Regions from separate parts of the Homo sapiens genome. Here all the other regions are linked to region 3. Evidence: promoter capture Hi-C in 16 types of primary human blood cells and fetal thymus (Javierre and others, 2016). All regions are on one chromosome and are shown on one strand. Each heading gives the region's core, a stretch centred on a gene start or on the middle of the fragment in contact. The rest is flanking DNA. Distances are from core to core; before and after follow the strand shown.

Region 1 (2,874 bases), core at 191-2,690, 250 kb before region 3:
TTGGTGTCTCATGGATTCAACCACAGGATACCGGAGGAGGAGCTTGGAGATAATCCGGCCAACTTATTTCACAGACAAGGACACCGAGGCACAGAGTGATGAGGTCCCTTTCCGGGCACACTGAGCTAGCCTGTAGTAGGCAGGTTTGAGAGCTGAGTTGATGGCCGTGGTCCTGTCCCAGGCTTTCCTGCATGGCCCGGCTGGTGCTGGGATGTGTTGCGTCTTCTCTCCAGCTTGCCACGTTGGTCTCTTCATTGTTAATGTGAAGAAAAGGGCATTTGTCTTAAGAGGAAGAGAAAGGCCATGAATTCCCTTTCCTTTTTTTTTCAGACCTGAGTCTCGCTCTGTGGCCCAGGCTGGGGTGCAATGGTGCGATCTTGGCTCACTGCAGCCTCCACCTCCCAGGTTCAAGGGGTTCCCCTGCCTCAACTTCCCAAGTAGCTGGGACTATAGGTGCCCGCCACCATGCCTGGCTAATTTTTTGTATTTTTAATAGAGATGGGTTTTGCCGTGTTGCTCTTTCCTTTTTTCTTGTGTCTTGGCATCCCTTTTCACAAAGATGCCGAGACGTAGGTTCTGGTCCTTTGCAGGGTCCCCAGCCCACACGCAGGCCCGGATGCTGTTACTGGCATCAACTTCGCCAGGCTCTGGACCTATCTTTGGCTGTCGGCTGCCGAGGACCAGCAGAAGACATGTTCTGGGTACACACAGAGGACTATGCTCAACCGCCAAGGATTCAGAAAATAGGAAATGGAGCTTCTTATGCCACTCTGTGAGAGTTCTGTTGGCAGCTGTATTTGGATAAACAGAAGTTTGAGATTTCGATGGGTTTCTGGTAGTCTGACCATGTCAAAAATTGGCCCACGTTACTAACACAATCTGTATCTGTCAAGATTTAACCAGAGAAACAGAACCAGCAGGAGACATAGGATATATATATGTGGATTTATTGCAGGAAACTGGCTTCTGTGGCTGTAGGAGCTGGCTAGACACATCAGAATTCATGGGCCTGGCCATCAGGAAGAGCAGCCTGGAACTCCTGGGCACGAGCTGAAGCTGCTGGCTGAGGTTTCCCCATAGAAGAAAAAAATTCCATCTGAAGCCAGCAGCTTTGGCCAGTGGTAGAGAGATGCCCCGTTCACAAAGGGCAGGGGGTGGTGTGGCAGGCACCCTTCCCGGGGACACAGTTTGGTGACTGTCCGCATTCCCCCAGGCAAGTGCGTGCAGGGGCATGAGGATGGGGCAGATTCCAAGAAGGCCTTGGCCCCCATCCCCCCTGGCCCTTCTGCCTGGGGTTTCTTTGTGGCTGAACGCTGCCTGGCCACACACAGCATCTGCACTCTCCAATGTTCTTGGCTTGGAAATCTTAGAAGCGTAGTTTTCCTGTGTCCCAGTTCTTTCGACTTTTTTTTTGTTTGCTGGCCTGGTACTTCTCTAACTATCTGGTAAGGACACATTTTTATTTTGTTTTAATTTCCAGTCCATCGTGGGACCCACACTTTTGTAAACCACGATAAAGATGAACTACCAGAAAAATGATGAAGCACTTAGACAACATGGCAAAGTGAAGTGGCTGTCAGCGTTTCTACCCGCTCGCTCTCAATTTCCACACTCAACGAGGCCCAGAACAGTCAGTTCCCGGACTGTCCCTGGAGCACAGGCCAGGCACCCTGGATGATTAACTGAGGGGTTCCATGAGTATTTCCTGAGCACTGTATGCTGAGCGCTGTTGTAGCCCATGGAACTAAACCTAGTACCCAATAGTTACTTTTTCTAAGCCACTCTCTCCTTCCACCCACCACCTTCAAGTAGGCTGCAGTGTCTGTTGTCCCCCTCTTTGTGTCCATGTGCCCTCATTTAGCTCCCACTTATAAGTGAAAATGTGCAGCGTTTGCTTTTCTGTTCCTGAGTTAGTTTGCTAAGGATAATGGCCTCCAGCTCCACCCATGTTTCTGCAAGGAACATGATCTCATTCTTTTTTATGGCTGCATAGTATTCCATAGTGTATATGTAACACATGTTCTTTATCCAGTCTACCACTGATGAGCACTGTGGTTGATTCCATGTCTTTGCTATTGTGAATAGTGCTGCAATGGACATATGCGTGTATGTGTCTTTACGGTAGAACAATGTATATTCCTTTGGATATATACCCAGTAACGGGATTGCTAGGTTGAATGGTAGTTCTGTTTTTAGCTCTTCGAGGAATTGCCATGCGGCTTTCCATAATGACTGAACTCATTTACATTCCCACCAACAGGGTATAAGTGTTCCCCTTTCTCCACAACCTCACCAGCACCTGTTGTTTTTTGACTTTTCAATAACAGCCATTCTGACTGGTGTGAGATGGTACCTCGTTGTGGTTTTGATTTGCGTTTCTCTCTAATGATCAGTGATGTTGAGCTTTTTTTCATATGCTTGTTGGCCACACGTACGTCTTCTTTTGAAAAGTATCTGGAACTTTGCTTTTAATGAGGGATACAGACAATAAATTAACATAATAAATAAGTAAATTAAACAATACTTTAGAGGGCGGTGCATCCTAAGGAAAAACTAAAGCAGAGAAGAGGGATGCCAATGATGAGTTGGTTTCTTTTTTCCTGTTGGATGGGGGTGTTGCCATCAGGGATGAAAACAAATGAAGTAAACCCATCTATTGAAAGGAATTCACAGTTGTCCTTATCAATGAATACTTTTTTTTTTTTTGAGACAGGGTCTTGCTCTGTCCCCTAGGCTAGAGTGCAGTGACATGATCTAGCTCACTGCAAACTCTGCCTCCCAGGTTCAAGTGATTCTCCTGCCTCAGCCTCCCGAGTAGCTGGGATTACAGGTGCCTGCCATGACAACTGACTAATTTTTGTATTTTTAGTGGAG
Region 2 (3,059 bases), core at 146-2,645, 250 kb after region 3:
CCGTTTCACCACATAGAGCTGAAAGCCTGGCATCTCGGCTGCGGTGGTTGTCTGGCTGTAGATATTGGAAGTGGGGAATGGCTCCTGCCCTACTGGGTGGCATTTCAGAGCCCCCAGGGGCCAGGTAGGGCCAGGTGGGTCCGGGCGGGGAATGCAGAGTGGTGCTGGGAGAATCCCAGCTCTACCCACCGTTGCTCTGGGATGGGAAGGACCTTTCTCCAGGCGGATGCTGGCTGTGGTGTCTACCCAAGGCCGAGCTCTGACCCGTCTTTGGGGCTGTCGGTCTGAGTTTTCCCCGTGCAGGTCGGCATGGCTCAAGTGCACAGCCCCTCCATACTCATCAGCAACTCGATAGAAGCTACTTAGGTTGTTGCTTAAGGGGCCCATGGTCTCTCCTTGAAGGTATTCTAAGTGGTCCTCCTAGGCTGAGCCAGGTTGCCAGGTGCCCAGAGCCAATCCGTGTGGCTCTTGACAGAACTCCTGTTCTCTGTGTGAAGCTCCGGGCGGGGAATCCCGGTCTGACCCAGGCACTGATGATCAGTGTTTCGGTGCACCAGATCCTTTGCTAAGTGCCCCCTCTGCTTGTCACATTTCATTGTCGAAAGAGCCCTGGGTCAGTCCAGTACTGGCCCCAAAGATGTCCCCGTCCTAAGACTGGATGGAGCCTGTGAATACGTTACGTTGCGTGGCTGGGGAATTACGATTGCAGGTAGAATTAAAGTTGCCAGTCAGCTGACTTTGGATAGGAGATGGCCCTAGATTATCGTGGTGGCCCAGCGTGATCTCAGGGTCCTTAGAGGTGAAAAACAGAGGCCGGAGTGTCAGGGTCAGAGTGGTGCCACGTGAGCAGGACTTGAGCAGCCACTGCTGGCTTTGAAGTGGAGGAAAGGGCTGAGAGCCAGGGGCCTCTAGAAGTTGGAAAAGGCGAGGAAGAGGATTCTCCCCCGAAGCCTCCGGGAGGAATGTAGCCCTGATCATGCTTGACTGGAGCCCAGTGAGACTCATTTTGGACTTCTCACTTCCAGAACTGAAAGTTGAGAAACCGGTGGTGTTTTAAGCCACGAAGTTGATGACAGTTCGTTACGACAGCAGCAGGAAACTAATGTAAACCCTGTGCCTTGTGTTATTATCCCCCTTTACAGATGCTGCCACTGAGGTCACAGAGTTAGTAACCCAAGGCAGAGCCAGTACGTGGCAGGGCTGGTTTTAAATTGAGTCAGGCTGGCTCTGGGCTGCTGATTACATTTCCCTTTTCACTTTGGCCACTAGGAAGCTTAGATCCACACATACGCCCACTTCCTGGCTCTTGGTTTTTCCTTGTCCTTGTTTGGTGGCCCTTTCACCTTTTCTTTTATGTTTTTGCTGCTTGCGATGTTGAATACACCTCGTGAGTTTTCCCTCAAATGCAGTTTGGAACAGGATGGCTCTGGATGGGCTGATGGATGATTTCTCCTCCCCTTTGTGTTCTGGCCTTTCTAGGAGGGTGAGGACAAAATCTTCTTAATCAACAAGCTTCACTCCATCTACGAGAGGAAGGAGAGGGAGGAGAGGAGCAGGTGAGGGTCCGTGGAGGGATTGGGGACACTCTGAGCCTGGAGGGGAGAGGGGCCAGGGCTGGACAGTAGGGCTGCCACTGGGGCTACACCACGACATTGCTGACACTTGACCGCTTTTGACCTACAAAAATCTCCCCCCCGGCGCCCACCTTCACTCTCTCTAGAGCCTTCTCTGGCCTCCGGAGCCTGGCCATTTTGACAGGGACCTAAAATACATCTCAGGAGAAAGGCTGTGGGGCGTCTGGCCTGTCCCTCGCCGGGCCTTGGCTGCGCCCAGCCAGGTTGCAGGGATGTTGATGTTTATGGGGTCCCCTCAGTGATGTCTCTTTCTGGCAGGGTTGGGACAACCGAGGAGGCTGCGGCACCCCCTGCCCTGCTCACAGATGAACAGGATGCCTAGGGGGACGGCGATGGGCCTCACGGGCCCGCCCAGCACCCTGAGACCACACTGTTGCCTCCCAGTGACCCTGCTGGGACACCAGGACAAGGAAGACAGTTTCGCCTCTCGAAAGCCGCAGCTGCGCCTAGGCTGGAGCTGGAAGGGTGGGTGAATCCGGCTTGGGCATCCCCAATGAACTCTGCCCTGCCTGGGACTCTATTTATTCTGATTAAAGGGGTTTTGCAAATGGGCTTGTCCCTTGGGGCTCTGTGTCTGTGACCACACCCGGGGCCTGCTTCCCGCTGCCCTGGGGCCACCTCCAGGCGCAGGTCTGGGTCCTGGGAACCTCAGCTGGAGTGGGGGCGCCCTCTGCTGGCCAAGCCCCAGATGGCAGGGGCTGGACCGCGCCAGGGCTTGATTCGCTTGCTGCCTTTGACCAGCCTGAACTCGCGCCCAGGAGGGGCTTACACCTGCACAAGTGAGCCGAGCAGGCACGGATTGTGACCAGAGCGATGCGTCAACCATTGGGTGATGCTGTAGCATCTACTGGAGCAGGAGACAAATTTAGAGAGGGACTTGGAGGGGAGACATATCAGTTGCAAATGAGTTGTGGGGACAGTTGCCTCCCAGGCATAGGTAACCAGCACCTGTGCTTGGAGGCGAACAGGGCTTGGTGAGGTGGGGCTGGCCCCCTGCTTCTGGCTGCCAGCAGCTGGCTGGGGGGTGGTGATCCTGGGTCTGACTGGGCTGAGTTTGAGGAGCCCGTGGGATACCGAAAACCGTAGGCTGTGGGGGGTGGGCACAGGGATTCGGGGACCAGCCCGTCATGACCCCGTGCTCCAGGTCTGCAGGGACCAGCCCATGACAGCCCAGGGCTCCAGGTCTGCGGGGACCAGCCCATCACAGCCCAGGGCTCCAGGCCTGCGGGGACCAGCCCGTCAGCCTCAGTTCTCCAGGCCTGCGGGGACCAGCCCGTCATGACCCCAGTGCTCCAGGTCTGTGGGGACCAGCCCGTCAGCCTGTGCTCCAGGCCTGCAGGAACCAGCCCGTCAGCCTCAGTGCTCCAGGCCTGCGGGGACCAGCCCGTCAGCCTGTGCTCCAGGCCTGCGGGGACCAGCCCGTCA
Region 3 (3,127 bases), core at 1-2,500:
CAAACTATCTACGTCAGTGCCAACGTGACCAGCAGCAAACCAATCTTTCACCTCAATCACTTCCTCTCCTCCCCTCTACCCCCTCCCCGCCAGTGATCAAGTCCTCCCCCACCCCAAGAGAGGCAGGGGGTCACATTCCAGGGGGTGTGGGCCATCTGGCAGTAGCCTGAACCCCGGAAAACTGCTTTCCGGAAATTCTCTCCTGCTAGAATTTTATTCCCAGGTCTGACCCCAGCCTGGGGTGTGAATGCCCCCTTCTCGGCCACCTTTCCAGCTCCGGAGACAGCCATTCCCGCAGATCCCTGGCGTGCCTATTCCAAGGCCTGGGCCGCGCAGCACCAAACTGCCCTCCCCTAGGAGACCCCAGGGCGCCCTCTGGCGGACGCGGGCCGTAGGTTGGGGCCATCGTTCCACCTCGAGCTCTCCAGCCCGGCCGAGAGCACCTGGCCCAACCCACACCGGACCAACCAGGTTTGCAGACCCCAGTGCATGAAAGCGTTTTCATAGGGGAGGGGAGGGGGGCTCCACACTCGCGTCAGGGTTGGCAAAGAACCTGGCAGTGGGCCGAGGCTGGGTAGCTGCCACGAAGGGGCGTCCCCTGCAGCCCTGGGTCTCCCCTCTGGAATCTGCCCGCAGGTGACTGTCGCACGTCTCCAACCTCCGGCTCCCGGGTCTGACCCCAGCCCCGCTGCCTGGCTGTGGGGTAGCCCCACTTCCCTTTCGGCTGGCCCGGGCCGCCTGACCCGCAGTTGGGCCCTCGGGGAGGCCCGGGTGGCGGCGAGGGGGTGTCCCCGCGGGGTCCGGGAAAAGGGGAAGGGGAACCGGGAGGCTCTCCAGGTCGGCCTCCTAGAACTGCCCGCTCTCCCGAAGCGGCGCCCCCGCCTCTGCCAGAAATCAGCCTTCTTAGAAGGGAGGGGGGTGGGGGGAAAGTGTGAATGAGAAGTTGGGGGCGGAGCGCGCGGCGGGGAGGGGCCGCTGCCAGGAACGCGCCGCCGGGGCTGGCGCCGCGCCCACCGGCCGCCTCGGCCGCCTCTCGTCGCGCTTTGTCTCCGCGCGCGTCCCTCCCGGTCCCTGCCCCTGCTCGCGGCCCGCCCTCGGCGCCCGCGGCCCCTCCCTCACCCTCCGCGCTCAGCCTTTCTCTGCTGCGAGTAGTGACTAAACATTACAAGAAGGCCGGCCGCGCAGTTCCAGGAATCGGGGGGCGGGGCGCGGCGGCCGCCTATATACCCGCGAGCGCGGCCTCCGCGGCGGCTCCGACTTGGACTCCCTGCTCCGCTGCTGCCGCTTCGGCCCCGCACGCAGCCAGCCGCCAGCCGCCCGCCCGGCCCAGCTCCCGCCGCGGCCCCTTGCCGCGGTCCCTCTCCTGGTCCCCTCCCGGTTGGTCCGGGGGTGCGCAGGGGGCAGGGCGGGCGCCCAGGGGAAGCTCGAGGGACGCGCGCGCGAAGGCTCCTTTGTGGACTTCACGGCCGCCAACATCTGGGCGCAGCGCGGGCCACCGCTGGCCGTCTCGCCGCCGCGTCGCCTTGGGGACCCGAGGGGGCTCAGCCCCAAGGACGGAGACTTCGATTCGGGACCAGGTAGGAAGGAGGAGCGCGGCGTGGGGAGGGGTCTCGCTCAGTCCCGGGAGCTTTTCCCGGTTTCCCCTCCCCTTCCCGGGTCATTCCCGGCAGGGAGGTGACGAGGTAGGGGCAGAGCGGATGGAAGCCGGAGATCCCAGGTTCCCGGAATACTCCGGCTGGGGCCTTCGGGCTTCTCCTGTCCCCTCCCTACCCCCGTGCCTCGGGTTTCTCCCTCCGTCCACACCGCCCGGGGCTACTGGACTGAGCGGCGCCCAGGCAGTCCCGGGGGCCCTTCTCCTGCTCCCCACCCGGCCACACTCCTGGAGACCTAACTTCCGCGCGCGAGTTTCCCACGCTGCGCCCTTGCAGTGCGCGCCTGGGAAGGGGCTGCCCGGGGCCACCCTGCCGGCAGGGGCGGGAGCCGTGCGGGCTCCGTGAGGCGCCTGGATCGGAGCGCGGGCCCAGGAGAGGGCCCCCGGGGCAGTGGGTGCCCCAGTCGCTCGGCGAAGGCAGGGGAGCCGGGGCGGGCCGGGCGCGCTGGAGGGTTCCGGGCACTCAACGCGCTCGCGCCTTCCTCTCCGCAGCCCCCCGGGATGCGGTAGCGGCCGCTGTGCGGAGGCCGCGAAGCAGCTGCAGCCGCCGCCGCGCAGATCCACGCTGGCTCCGTGCGCCATGGTCACCCACAGCAAGTTTCCCGCCGCCGGGATGAGCCGCCCCCTGGACACCAGCCTGCGCCTCAAGACCTTCAGCTCCAAGAGCGAGTACCAGCTGGTGGTGAACGCAGTGCGCAAGCTGCAGGAGAGCGGCTTCTACTGGAGCGCAGTGACCGGCGGCGAGGCGAACCTGCTGCTCAGTGCCGAGCCCGCCGGCACCTTTCTGATCCGCGACAGCTCGGACCAGCGCCACTTCTTCACGCTCAGCGTCAAGACCCAGTCTGGGACCAAGAACCTGCGCATCCAGTGTGAGGGGGGCAGCTTCTCTCTGCAGAGCGATCCCCGGAGCACGCAGCCCGTGCCCCGCTTCGACTGCGTGCTCAAGCTGGTGCACCACTACATGCCGCCCCCTGGAGCCCCCTCCTTCCCCTCGCCACCTACTGAACCCTCCTCCGAGGTGCCCGAGCAGCCGTCTGCCCAGCCACTCCCTGGGAGTCCCCCCAGAAGAGCCTATTACATCTACTCCGGGGGCGAGAAGATCCCCCTGGTGTTGAGCCGGCCCCTCTCCTCCAACGTGGCCACTCTTCAGCATCTCTGTCGGAAGACCGTCAACGGCCACCTGGACTCCTATGAGAAAGTCACCCAGCTGCCGGGGCCCATTCGGGAGTTCCTGGACCAGTACGATGCCCCGCTTTAAGGGGTAAAGGGCGCAAAGGGCATGGGTCGGGAGAGGGGACGCAGGCCCCTCTCCTCCGTGGCACATGGCACAAGCACAAGAAGCCAACCAGGAGAGAGTCCTGTAGCTCTGGGGGGAAAGAGGGCGGACAGGCCCCTCCCTCTGCCCTCTCCCTGCAGAATGTGGCAGGCGGACCTGGAATGTGTTGGAGGGAAGGGGGAGTACCACCTGAGTCTCCA

Evidence for each region. Contacts are between HindIII fragments. The CHiCAGO score rates a contact against its expected background, and 5 or more counts as called.
Region 1: a contact is called between a fragment that was not itself captured here and the fragment with the promoter of SOCS3 in region 3, in 1 of 17 cell types (monocytes). The highest score is 7.0, in monocytes.
Region 2: a fragment that was not itself captured here is called in contact with the fragment with the promoter of SOCS3 in region 3 in 7 of 17 cell types (activated CD4 T cells, naive B cells, total B cells and 4 more); the score reaches 8.3 in activated CD4 T cells.

The regions. Positions count from the first base shown.
Region 1 is chr17:78,607,720-78,610,593 of GRCh38, reverse strand. No RefSeq gene overlaps it. Among named protein-coding and RNA genes, the nearest start is that of SCAT1, 23 kb to the left of the region's middle. The HindIII fragment of the contact is 3,651 bases long and covers 1-2,874 here.
Region 2 is chr17:78,112,045-78,115,103 of GRCh38, reverse strand. TMC6 (transmembrane channel like 6) reads left to right here. Exons shown (of 20, transcript NM_001127198.5): 19 at 1,480-1,556; 20 at 1,893-3,059. The coding sequence ends at 1,956. Among named protein-coding and RNA genes, the nearest start is that of TMC6, 15 kb to the left of the region's middle. RefSeq lists an enhancer at 2,454-2,513. The HindIII fragment of the contact is 239 bases long and covers 1,276-1,514 here.
Region 3 is chr17:78,358,200-78,361,326 of GRCh38, reverse strand. It overlaps SOCS3 (suppressor of cytokine signaling 3), which reads left to right and starts at 1,250. Exons shown (of 2, transcript NM_003955.5): 1 at 1,250-1,577; 2 at 2,144-3,127. The coding sequence starts at 2,232. The coding sequence ends at 2,909. SOCS3-DT (SOCS3 divergent transcript) reads right to left here and starts at 879. Exons shown (of 5, transcript NR_110847.1): 1 at 554-879. RefSeq lists silencers at 349-398, 629-828, 889-1,198, 1,209-1,488, 1,899-2,138 and an enhancer at 1,246-1,894. The HindIII fragment of the contact is 6,903 bases long and covers 1-3,127 here.